Linked DNA regions of Homo sapiens: region 1 is linked to region 2. The links are contacts of gene promoters, found by promoter capture Hi-C in blood cells and fetal thymus (Javierre and others, 2016). All regions are on one chromosome and are shown on one strand. The core of a region is centred on a gene start or on the middle of the fragment in contact, and the rest is flanking DNA. Distances in the headings are between cores, read along the strand shown.

Evidence for each region. Contacts are between HindIII fragments. The CHiCAGO score rates a contact against its expected background, and 5 or more counts as called.
Region 1: a fragment that was not itself captured here is called in contact with the fragment with the promoter of LURAP1L in region 2 in 1 of 17 cell types (endothelial precursors); the score reaches 6.4 in endothelial precursors.

What each region holds. Positions count from the first base shown.
Region 1 is chr9:12,874,230-12,880,945 of GRCh38, reverse strand. No RefSeq gene overlaps it. Among named protein-coding and RNA genes, the nearest start is that of LURAP1L-AS1, 63 kb to the right of the region's middle. The HindIII fragment of the contact is 2,761 bases long and covers 1,396-4,156 here.
Region 2 is chr9:12,771,805-12,778,062 of GRCh38, reverse strand. LURAP1L (leucine rich adaptor protein 1 like) reads right to left here and starts at 3,043. Exons shown (of 2, transcript NM_203403.2): 1 at 2,036-3,043. The coding sequence starts at 2,347. The region is part of intron 2 of LURAP1L-AS1 (LURAP1L antisense RNA 1); the gene reads left to right. The HindIII fragment of the contact is 1,821 bases long and covers 2,875-4,695 here.

The DNA.
Region 1 (6,716 bases), core at 1,527-4,026, 100 kb before region 2:
AGTTGGCGTTTACAGATTTTATGTGATTTTTTTTATCACATAGCTTTAATAAAAACAAGATGGTCAGATTAGTGAGTGTGTGTAAGAGACAAGGGCAGCCTCAGAAAACTCAAATGTAATCCTTTTAGATACAGTCTCCAGCTGGGCTTGACAAGGAGTTGTGAGCCATATAAGGAAGGAAGATAGCAGTTATACTTAACGATAGTTTTGTTTAAGTCAAATGATCAGGCCTCTCCTGTTTTATCTTAAACTTGTGGAGACAGTTTATGTTTCTGATGAGGGCAGCCAAATAATGCACTGGTAATCCAAGCCTGTTTACCCTCTGGCTATGAGACATGTTACATTATATTTTACATTTCAACCAGAGGGGATGATCTAAATTGTAAGGTGTCATGTGCTTCCCCTAAACTGAGGTCTGTTTTTCTAGATTAGCATTGGAAACCTCACCCTTGAAATGTGTCTTCCATCTAGAGTTCGGAGGAGGTACATTTATGGTAGGGTTCAGTGAATTAACACAGACACAGATTTTCTGTTTTTTTTTTTTTTTTAATTTGCTTTAAGTACATGGTATCAACAATGATCTATTGTTGATCTATTAATAGGAAAGGAAATAAGTAATGGCAACATTACAAAAAAGAATAAAAGTGCCAAAGTTCCTTTTTAATATTCACAGATGTGTGGTAGAAATGAGAGCTCATTATATTTCTCTTCAAACTTATTACCACTTCTGTAGTCTGTATCTTAGTTGGGTGGCATCAATTTCCATTAGCCTTTTAAGCTACAAAACTGAGAGTCATTGATTCTTTGCACTCACTTAGTTTCAACTCCTAGCCTCATTTACATCCCTGCTCTTATCATTTGTTTCTAAAACTTGTGCAACAGAAAAATCATTAGAAGAGAATTAAGTCCTCTGTGAAAAAAAATTTTATAACTAAGCTATTTCTCATATAAACATAAAAAAGGTAAAATGAAAGGGCAAGGAATCTCAAATCTCTCAAAATATTTATGTAATAAATTACACAGTTACATCTTTATCCAAGTGATTAAACAAGAATATTTTAAGGCAATGAATTATAATTCAGTATTTTTTATTCTTTTGCTTTGTAATACATGCAGTTTATGTCTTTAAATCACCTTATACTGTAATTACTATATATATAAAATAATGAATTTTAAAAAAGAAATCAGAAATATATATATATCTATATATATATATGAAAACACTGAAACAGAGGAGAGTTAACTTTACCTTTAGTCTGATGTACAGTGTACACTATTAAAGGATAAATTACATTGAGTTTCCTGGCAGCAAAAGGGTGATAGAAGCATATTATTTTTCAAAAGATATCCACTTAGATAAATTCATATAATTTATCACAGATAAATAGGCAAGCTTCAGAGATTTAAGAAAGACTATCCTTTTAAACACTTTGCAGTTGTGTAATCTAGAACCCTTTATTGAAACATCCCCCTCTCCCATGGTACTGCCGCTTCTCTGAATCACACAGGTAAGTGGTCTTCAAATTCAACTTGATGCCCTCTCAAGTGCATCAAGAAATCAAGAATGATGACACTGGCTTTATTTGTTGATCAAATTTTTCCAGAGTTTAAGACCTATTTTTAGTTATGAATACTTTAAAAAGTCATATTAATTCCTCTAGGAACTAAATTATTATTTTTGTATACCTAATCAAATAATGGCCCAAAAATGATATGTATGATGATCAAGGGCTTACCACAAATATCTAACTATGAAATGGAATATCCTTAGCTATATAGATTTTCAATAATAGAATGTATTTCCTTTTGAATGTAGCACTCAAAGAATCTTCAAATGGCTTTTAACTAGGGCAGGGTAAATTAACATAAGTATCTCTAATAGGGAGTGCAGGGTGCAGTAATTACAAATAGGGAAATAGAGATTCTAGTATACAAAGGTAAATATTTTACCCATTTTTCCTGATGTCCGCATTCTGTCTGAAGCCTGACTTGTGATTTATTTTACGTAGTATTGCATTTGAACTCTTAGCATTTAAACTCTTAGAATTTTTTTTTTCACACTAAGTCCTTTGGTTGCTTTGGTACACACTTTGCTGTTTTATCCTATAATTAAACCTGTGATAAGCAAAGAAAAACATACCCTTTTACTCCAGTAGTTCTGTAAAGATTAGGCACTTCCTTTCTGGATTAGCAGTTAGAGCTGAGATTACCCTGAAACAAATCAATTGGTCATTATATAGGGAAACACAAAATACGCGTATTGACTAACCAGCCTCCTTTCATGTTCTACAATTTCTACAAACAGATTCTTTACAATAGGTGGTATCTTTTCTATGCAAGTGAATGATAAACAAATATACAGGCTGCAAAAGAACATGATTGGGCCAAAGTTCACAATAGTTTGATGAATAAACCAGGGTTACAAAACCTGGAAATACAGGCAGTCTTACCAGGCTTCATATTTCTGCTGACCTAAGTCTAAGAAAAACAAAGGATTAGGTGTCAGTAACTAAACACGGTGCTCCTTCTTAGTTTTTTTTAATGTAGGTTAACCATAGTGAGAAAGGTATCTTTTCTATGACCACATTTATACAATAAGGACCAAAGATTGTAGAATTTACTAGAAAAAAATGCTTTACTTCAATTCTAGTCTGTGTCATTCAATTAACCCAGCCTTCACTGTAGATACAGAGATAAGCAAAGGGCTAAAAAAAGTAGTAGATGATATAGTACAATTCATCCATATGTAGAGTAAAAAGTCAAATGTAAAAAACTGTGAGGAAACACAAAAAGAGGAGAGATTATTTCTGCTTGGGGAAATCAAACACATATTCTGGAACTTAACAAATGAGTATAATTTTCACATACATTGATCTACACAATGTACAGTCATGCATCTCTTAACAACAGGGATACATTCTGAGAAAAGGGCCGATTTCACCATTGTGTGAACGTCATAAAGTGTGTTTCCATAAACCTGTGTGATACAACCTATTGCTCCTAGGCTACAAATCTGTACAGCATGTTACTGTATTGAATATTGTAGCCAGAGCCAGTTGTAACACAATGGGAAGTATTTGTGTATCTAAGCATAGAAAAGTTACAGTAAAAATAAGGTACAAAAGACAAAAAGTTTTTGACTCTTTTATAATAATACTTAGCTTAAAACACAACACATTCTACAGTTGTACAAAAATATTTTCTTTCATTATATCCTTATTCTACAAGATTTTTCTATTTTTTACGTTTTTATTTCTTTTTAGTTTTTAGGCTTTTTAATTGAAAACTAAGACACAAACACACACATTAGCCTAAGCACACAGGGTCGGGATCATCAGTATCACTGTCTTCTACCTCCACATCTTGTCCCACTGGAAGGTTTTCAGGGGCAATAACATGCATGGGGCTGTCATCTACTATGATAACAGTATCTTCCTCTAGAATACCTCCTGAAGGACCTGCCTGAGGCTGTTTTTGACTTAAAAAAATAAGCAGAAGGAGTACACTCCAAAATAACAATAAAAAGTATAGCAAATACATAAACCAGTAATATAGTCACTTATTGTCATTATCAAGTATTATGTACCGTACATGATTATATGTGCTATACTTTTATACAATTAGCAGTACAGTAGGTTTGTTTACACTGGCATTATCAGCACAAACATCTAAGTAATGTCTTGCTCTATGACACTATGATGGCTGTGACTTCACTAGAAGATAGTAATTTTTAGCTCTACTATAATCTTTTGGTACTACCATCCCATATGTTGTCTGTCATTATGCAGCACATAGCTGTATATACTATTAGCAGGATTTGTTGCTGTGGTAGTGGTGGTTATTGTTAGTCTTGGATTTAGTCGGGATTAGAAAGGAAATGGGAGTAGCTCTGACATGAGTCTTTGTGCATCTGTTTCCCCTAAATTGCTTAATTGGACCTTAAACTCCTTCAGAATCTGAATACCGCATGTTCTCTGATACTTTCCTGCTTATATTCTATACTCCACATCTTTTGAAGTTTTTACAAATTCCCTAATTAGCCAGGGTTTTTCATGTTTTCTCATCTTTGTACACATTGTTCCTTCTGTCCAGAAGGCCCTTCTCTAACCCCATGAGTATATATAGTTTATTAAAAATTCATTTTAGATATAAAGCTTTAGGCAACCTCCTAAGGTATTGATAGTTTTAGTTCCTCTAATCTTGCTGTAACTATGAATATTTATATTGACTTCTTTTTGCACTTACTTCATTTTATATGTCTGGCTACTCATTAGACTGTGAGCCTGTCTTCATTTTCATGGTGCCAAGTAGTTCCTCAACATGTCTGACGTATGTATGAATGAAGACCAACAACTTTCATTAAGTTTTTCCCAACTATTTTTTATCAGTAATCATGCTATCTTCCTTGAATTCCTAGTGAACAGCTTTCCATAGTTGCACAAATCAGTCTTTTAAGCAAATACCACAAATTAGGTAATCTGTAACATTTGGAAAGTCTTAATAGAGTTGTTCTTTACTAATGCATAAATGAATTTATTCAACAAGTATTCATTGAGTGTCTTCTGTGCTCAAAGCACTATACTAGGTAACATAGGAGATAGAGATACAATATACTCAGAGTACTCAATCAACAATTATAAAGTAAAGTAAGGCAAAACCGTAATGAGACACTGGAAAGAAAGAGATACTGTCTTAGAAACTAACAGTGGAAAAGAGAGCACCATTAATCTTTTTTAAAAACTATTATGGTAAAAAAAATAACATGAAATTTACCCTTTTAACAAGTGTTAAGTGCACAGTACAGTGTTGTTAACTACAGGTACAGTGTGGTACAGGGGATCTCTAGAACTTCATCTTGCATGATTGAAATTTTAATGCCCACTGAAAAGCAACTCCTCATTTCCCACTTGCTTCAGCCCTCGGCAATCACCATTCCACTCTCTGATATGATGAATTTGACTGTTTTGGGTACCTCATATAAGTAGAATAATTCAGTATTAGTTCTTTCATGACTGGCTTATTTCACTTAGCATAATGTCTTCCAGGTTCATTCATGATGCAGCATAGAACAGAATTTTCCTTTTAAAGGCTTAATAATATTCCATGGTACATATATACATCACATTTTGTTTAATCCATTCATGCATCAGTGAACAGTTGGGTTGCTTCCACATTTTGGCCATTGTGAATAATGCTGCAATGAATATGAGTGTCAAATATCTCTTTAAGATACTATTTTTAATTATTTTGGATAAATATCCAGAAGTGGGATTTCTAGATCATATGGTAGTTACATTTAATTTTTTGAGGAAGCTTTCTATTGTTTTCCACAACAGCTGCACTGTTGCACATTTCCACCAACAGCATCCAAGGGTTTCAATTTTTCCAAGGCAGCAAAAATTTGTTCTTTTCCTTTTTCTTTTTGTAATGGCCATCCTAAAAAGTGTGAGGTGATGTCTTATTGTGGTTTTGATTTGCATTTCCCTGATGATTAAGATATTAGGCATTTTTTCACATAGCTGTTGGCCATTTATGTGCTCTCTTTGTAGAAATATCTTTTCAGTTCCTTCATCCATTTTAAATCAGATGATTCACCTCTTTGCTATTGAATTATAAGCAGTTATTTATATATTTTGGATCTTAAGTCCTTATCAGATATATAGTTTGCAAATATTCTCCTGTTCTGTAAGTTGCCTTTTCAACTGTTGATTGTTTCCTTTCCTGTGCAAAGGCTTTTAGTTTGTTGTAGTCCCACTATCCTATTTTTGCTTTTGTTGTCAGTGCTTTTGGTTTTGTACCCATGAAAGCATTGCCAAGACCAATGTAATGAAGGTTCCTCTCTGTTTTCTTCTATGAGTTTCATAGTTTCAGGTCTTATGTTTAAATATTTAGTCCATTTTGAGTTTATTTTTCTGTGTGGTAAAATATAAAGTTCTAATATTATTTGTTTGCAGGTAGATTCTAGTGCACAATCCTCACAGAGGTTAGAGTGAACCAACATCACACCACTGTATTCCGGCCTGGGTGACAGAGTGAGACCCTGCCTCAAAAAACAAAACAACCCCCTCCAAAAAAATCCCCCAAACAAACAAAGCTACAGTTGTTATTGATAGGGAAGGACTTATTATTGGCATTTTGTTGCATGTTAGAACGTTCCTTTCTTTTTTTTTTTTTTGGTTATGTTTTCCAAGAAGACAGCTGGGATAATTTTGCCTTTTGCATTTGGATGTCTAATTTCCTGGACGCCATTTGTTGAGGAGACTATACATTCCCCATTGTGCATTCTATGCACCCTTTTAGAAGATCAGTTGTCCTTTCATGTGTGGGCTTGTTTCTGGACTCGCTGTTGTGTTCCATTGGTGTGTACATCTGTCTTTATGCCAGTACCATCATGTATTAATTACTGTAGTTTTGGAAAGTGTTTTGAAATTAGAAAGTATGAGGCCCTCCAGCTGTATTCTTCTTTCTCAAGATTGTTTTGGTTATTCAGAGTTTTTTTCTTTTCTTTTTTTTTTATTTTTTAAAACAATTTTTTAAATATTTTATTGTAAGTTCTGGGATACATGTGCAGAATGTGCAGGTTTGTTACATAGGTAAATGTTTGTCACAGTGGTTTGCTGCACCTATCAACCCATCACCTAGGTATTAAGCCCAGCATACATTAGTTATTTTTCCTGATGCTCTCTCTCCCCCTGCATCCCCCACCACAAGGCCCC
Region 2 (6,258 bases), core at 1,794-4,293:
CTTAGAGACTCTCAACATAAATCCCAGTTTCAGAAATTGTGTCTCAAAAAAGTAAAGTCTTAATAAATATTAGGTTGGTGCAAAAGTAGTTGTGGTTGCCATTAAAAGCAATGGCAAAACAGCAATTACTTTTCCACCAACCTATAAAAAAAAACTAATTGTGATTCATCACTACAATAGAAGGTAAAATGTATACTCACGTTACCATGGAAATAAACATCATCAGTTTAAAAATTCTCACAAAACTTGTGACTTCTCTACAGGACAACATGGTTGTGCATCCTAAGTGGAACGTAATTATTTTTGTCAGAAAATGATCTTCACATACATACCAATCATTCCTTGGGACAGGGTGGGGTTCATCGGTTTTTGGAAATGTTACTGTTTTCAAGTTATATATAAATACTCTAAATTGTGTCTGAGTGTCCAGCAAAATGACAGTATTATCTTTGATGTGCTATCAGTGAGCTACTGAGAAAGAAAATATGTTTCAACAAGATTTATTTATTAGATTAAGTGAATATATTAACATTCCATGGGTAAAATTACAGAAGACATGGTTAGGAATAAAATTTCCTCATCTCCTTGATGTCTTCGTCCCTCATATTAAGTCCTTAATTTGCAGAGTTAGCAACATTCTTAATTCCTTGTACAAGAAATTTTCTTGTGGAAAATAGTTTTACCTGTTAGTCTCCACACGTATGTCTGATCTTTGTGATACGGTATCAGGCATCCCCTGACCTGTTGGTTTGTCATCTTTTCCATTTTATCTTTTCATCTATTTTGCAAACTCATCAAGATGACTTCCACTTTCCAGCTTCTCCATTATGTACCTAAGGGTTGTCCTTAAATTTTTGTCCAACCTAAAAAATAACAATCACTAAATGATAGAACTCTATAATAACTAAACGATAGAATGATAGAAATAATTTCCAGCATTCCTGTCGGAGTGATAGAAATCTCCTAGCCTACTTTGAAGCAAATCAAAAGCAACTGTGAAGTTAATTTAATGAAATTATTTTCTCTTTTTGAGGCCCACTGTTGCAACTTTCCTTATCTCCAAGCTAGTAGAAAATGCTGTTGCTTTGTGGTCGTTTTTTTCAAAGGACTTAGGGAGGGATCATTTTCTCTAACCAGCTCATCAAATTCACAGAGGTCTACAGAAGTGAAGTGACGTGCCCAAGAGCTCATGGCAAGTAAATAGTGTCTTAGTCTAAATACTTCCAGAATGAGTATTCCTAGACCTTGTACTTATCTCATTGTCCTATGCTCAGGCAAACGTTTGCAAACAGCAGGGAAAACAACTGCAGATTGAGACTTGAGGGAGAAGGGTGGGAGATGGTCCTTAGCAGATCCCTGGGCCTGGGGATCACCTGCTCCCTGGGATCAAAATAGTGAAACAAGCTATTCATAAGTACATCAAGGACGAGTAGGCCATTGTTTTCAGAACCAGCTGTGGAGAATCTGCTCGACAGTGGCCTTGGAACAGCTGCGGCTGCTGCACCAAGAAGGGAGGGCAGGAGGGCGGAGCGGTACTGGTGGAAGGGTGAGCTAGGAGGAAAGGCTGCAAGGACCCTGCCACGCCACCTCCCGGCAAACCAGGAAGTATTTTTGCAGTAAGTGCATTGGACTGAGCCACCTTTTGAACCTACCCGAAGTGTTAACAGCGCACAGCAGGCCTTAGATGGGTGCAATAACTGCAAACTCTCAACGGGCTGGTGCCTAAGAGGCTACGGGCTGGCAGCTAAATAGAGCCCGGCGCAGTGAGTCGCGTTGTCCGAAAGTACACAGAGTGGAGCCAGCCGACTGTGCTGTCTTTGCAAACCGTGACCGAGCAAAGTCCGCGGTAAACAAGCCTCGCAGCAGCTGCCTCCGGATGAGCGCCCCCTGCTCATTCCTCCACCCAGCATTTCCCACGCGCCCAGCGCTCCGCTCTGCAGCCCCTGCCGTCCTCTCTCCCAGCCCCATTCTCAGATCGCCCCATCTTTTGGCCCAGCCCAGGTCCCAGCCCCCGCGGCTGGCGCACCACACTCACCATCTCTTGCCTGAGGAGGTGAAGCTTGGTTTCTAGCCTCTCCAGGGCGCTAGAGTGGCTACCTCGTGGGGAGCCAGAGGTTGGGGAGGACGAAGAGGAGGACGACAAGGAGGGAGGGAAGCTGCAGTAGCTGCTGCTGCTACTGCAGCCGCCGCCGCCGCCGCCACCACCACCGCTCCCCCCGCAGGGGTCCCTGTCCCTTTCCCTGGGAACCGGCTCCTCCCCACGGAGAGAGCGCACTAGACTCTCGGGTACTTTGCGCCCCAGCTTCAGCTCGATGTCTCTGAGGTCTGGCAGCGGGCTGTCTTCCATGACTTTTCCGGAACGGCGATAATAGTAATAAAACGCAGCAGATGAAAGGCAGCCACGGCTTCGAAGGCTGCTGCGAAATCAGCAGACCTCTCCGGGGGCCAGGGTCTCTATCCTCCGCCGCTCCGGTGTACCGTCCTTTCCATAACCGCCTATGCGGTATCAGCCCTGAAATCCGCACAGGACGCGGGGGGTCGCAGCTGCAGTTCCCAGTCCGCTGCGACTCCTCCGACACTAAGATGATCAAGATCTCCTCATTCTCTCTCTTTTTGGCCACCTCACTGCAAAGTTGAGTTCACTGATATTGCAGACAGAGGGGGAATAAAGAGGGGGAAGTAGTGAAAGAAAAGAGAGGGAAATTAAATCTGTTTTAGCTTTACCAAGGGAAAATTTTCACATTATAAAACCGTCCGTTCACATCCCTGCGCCGCTCACTGACTGCCCATCTGGTACTACGCGACACAAAATAATGATGCAGCCAGAAACGATGTCCTGGGTCGTTTCATTTTCCAGCCATATGCCTCCAAGCTTTCGGGATATCCTGGGTTGTCAGAAATAATCTCTGGTCAGTGAAAGAGGAGTTCGGTCGTGTGCATGGACCCATAAAAAAGAGCTAGTTAGCTTAGCAGGAGTTTAACGGCTTCCTTGATGCAGCAAAAATGTCCTTCTTCCCATTTAGGCTGTTTGATCCAAGTCATTGTGTTCCTCTGAGCCTCGGAAACTTTAAACTCCGCTGGCAGGTGGACCAAACCAGGACCAACCCTTCTACCGTATATCACAGACAAGAAGAGCAACCGGAATTTTCCCAACCCTGTCGCTAGTAGCAGAGTTTCAAAGCCCTGCTTTAGTTAGGAATACCAGTTGATTTTTCAGTTTTCCTGACTAGCTACAACCTTTAAAACAGGTTTTAAAATGAGAGATAGAGGAATGACTTTATATTTGGTGTCTTCGTTTCCCATCTCTCTACCTTCCTCAAAGGAAAAACAAACAGAAAACCTCTCTTTAGAAGACTTTCCTAATAATTTTATTCTAATAAAAAGAGTGAAACAATTTCATCAAAAGTTCAATGGAAATGTACAATCAAAATTAATTATCCTACCAACTGTTACAGTATGCAAACAAAAGTGAAAAATTAAATAGCCAGAATAACTTACATGACTGCTGAGATAGCAGTGAAATTTTAAGAACAAGCAATTGCTGAGATACTTACTTTTATTTTAATTATGGAAGAAAAAATATTGGGAATAACTATTTAAAATGTTGTCTTCTTTGATAATTTATCTATAAATTAATTTATAGATTTTTTCAACTATACAAATTGTACAATTAATTGTATAGTTGAACAATTGTACAATTTATTAATTTGTACAATTGTACAATTCATTAATCTGAAATACTTCTACCAAGTAAGTTATTATGAGCTACATGGATTACAGATCTGAATCAGCATTGAGTTTGTGTCAAAAATGTTTAAGTAGAGGATACTAATTTCAATCCAGTAAACTACAATTTTTGATTTCCATTGAAATATTTCAAAGTATGTGCCCCTCTATTTCTGTGACATATAAGTATTTGTGTTCCTGGTCACTCCGAGGCTCCATTTCCAGAGACATCATTCAGGTTTTACACTTGTAGGAACATAGGTATATACATCTCAGAGTTTGTTTTTATCATATCTGACTCTAGGAAACCTTATACGTAGAGGAAACATACGCATTCTAAATGAAATATTTCATGTCAGGGAAAAAATGCTGAACTTTCTATCAACATGCCAGAAATTTGCATGCTATTTCTCCCTTTTAAAAAGAAATGAAGAAAATAGTTATAAGTTAGATGACCCATTTCAAAGTTAGAACTACCACTTACAGAATCAAGGGAAAACAAGACCAAATCCCAGCTAACTGATAAAACTACATGCTTGGTCCTAAATTTGGAAAAACACAAGCTCGTTGCATAAGAATTGCACTGTGGCATGTAATTATGAAAGGCTTGTGTTTCAGTCAAGAACAGTTTATTATTACAAAACCCTTACAAAGTTCAGCATAAGGCTGGCTAAGTGCAGTTTATAGATGAAATATCTAGCTAGAAATTGGTCAGTAAAAAACAAATGTCAAATTATCGTGTGTCAATATAGAAAAATGGGACACCTCTTCTGCTATGAATCACAGACTGCAAAATCAGTATTTGAGGCTGAGGATAATTTAATATATACGTATATGTATGTATATATGTATATAGTTTTTTAAAGAAGTCTGCAGGAGAAACTCCTCTGAGAGTAAAAGTGTGATGTATATGCAAAGTAACTTTGTTCCAGTGAAATATAAAAAAATGTAAACTTTTGAAGGAAAGCTTAGTATGTCAAGCTTTAAATTTTTTTTCGGTTAAATGCCTATTGACATTTTAGTTTAAAATGAAGACATTTTGAATGATGCTTTAGCTAGTTTTCAGAATATATTAAAATCATTGAATGTTTATGGATCTATAATAGATTGTTGTTAATGCTACCATAACTGCTTTATGTGGTTTAATCTGAGGACATTTCTTACTCAAACTATTTGAAAACTTTTTTTTTTTACTTTGGTTCTTGAGCATGTGTTTTGTTTGTTTGTTTTCAAGATTCTCAAGAAACTGAGTCAGCCTGGGCAATATAGCGAGACCCCACCTCTTCAAAAAATTTAAAAATTAGCCAAGCATGGTGGCATGCACTTGTAGTCTTAGCTAAGGGGTTAGGGGTGAGGGAGTGAGGCCAGAAGATTGCTTGAGTCCAGGGGTTCGGGGTTGCAGTAAGCTATTATCAAGCCACTGCCCTTTAGTCTTTGAGACAGAGTGAGAAACTGCCTCAAAAAACAAAAACAAAAATAAAAACAATAAACATACAAAAATGCCCACAAACAACAAGGACAAAAATGTGTGAGATGTTTTACCAATTGCTCTTAGCCTGAGAAGCTAATTACATCTTGAGTTGGGGAATCAGTTGAGAAGACTTTGCAGTAATGAGTCCAGGATGGGGGTTGGGGGTAGCAGTGAATTCAGCAACAACTGGGAGAGGGAACATAGGGAGAACTAAGAAAGACAGAGGGAAAAATTCTTGAGTCATATCACTCTTAGTAGCACTCCCTCATTGCTCCTACTTTTCTGGTCCATCTCCAACTACCTCTGTTTCTTTGATTAGTAGCATTTGCCATGCCAACAACCACCTAAACTCGCAGTGTTTCTCCAAGTCTAATAATACATTGCAGAGTAAAATTGTAAAAATGGTTATTGTATTGTTTTTATTTGTGATGTAATTTTTTATACTTCATTATATGCTTCCTTTTAAGACCACCATATGTATGAGCTGGATTTGCCTTTTTTTTCTATTCAAAATGCATAAAGAATCTAAGAATGAATGTTAAACTATGCAGGACTTTAAGAGACTGAGTTTCTTCCCTAGCTATGTTGTGTACACGGAGAAGGAAAGGGAGCCTCTTATTTATCATTAAAAAGAAAGAAAAACTAGTGGCTAATTAAATAGGAACATTGTTGGACTCAGATGACAGGTTTTGAAAGAATGCCTCAGTCACAACAGACTGATGTGATGCACGCTTCACACATTCCACACTTAGAACATTTCCTGATTTGAGACACAATACTCACAGCAAGAGTAGACTCAACAACGCTTCATGTAGTGTGGGTAACACCACTCCTTAATCTGTTGCTGGCATTGTGGTTAAAAGAAGAAACACCTTCCACCTTCTTTCTGGCACTGATTGCAAGTTTGCAGCATTCCCAACTCTTGCTGTCACAGAGCTCAAGGGCTAGGACAGGGTCTCTTACCTGAGACTCCACTCCCCACAGTGCAGAATAATGTCAAGCAGCCAACAGCCTCAAATTATGCCTAAGAATTTTAGGAAGTCACTATTTAATAAGTATCA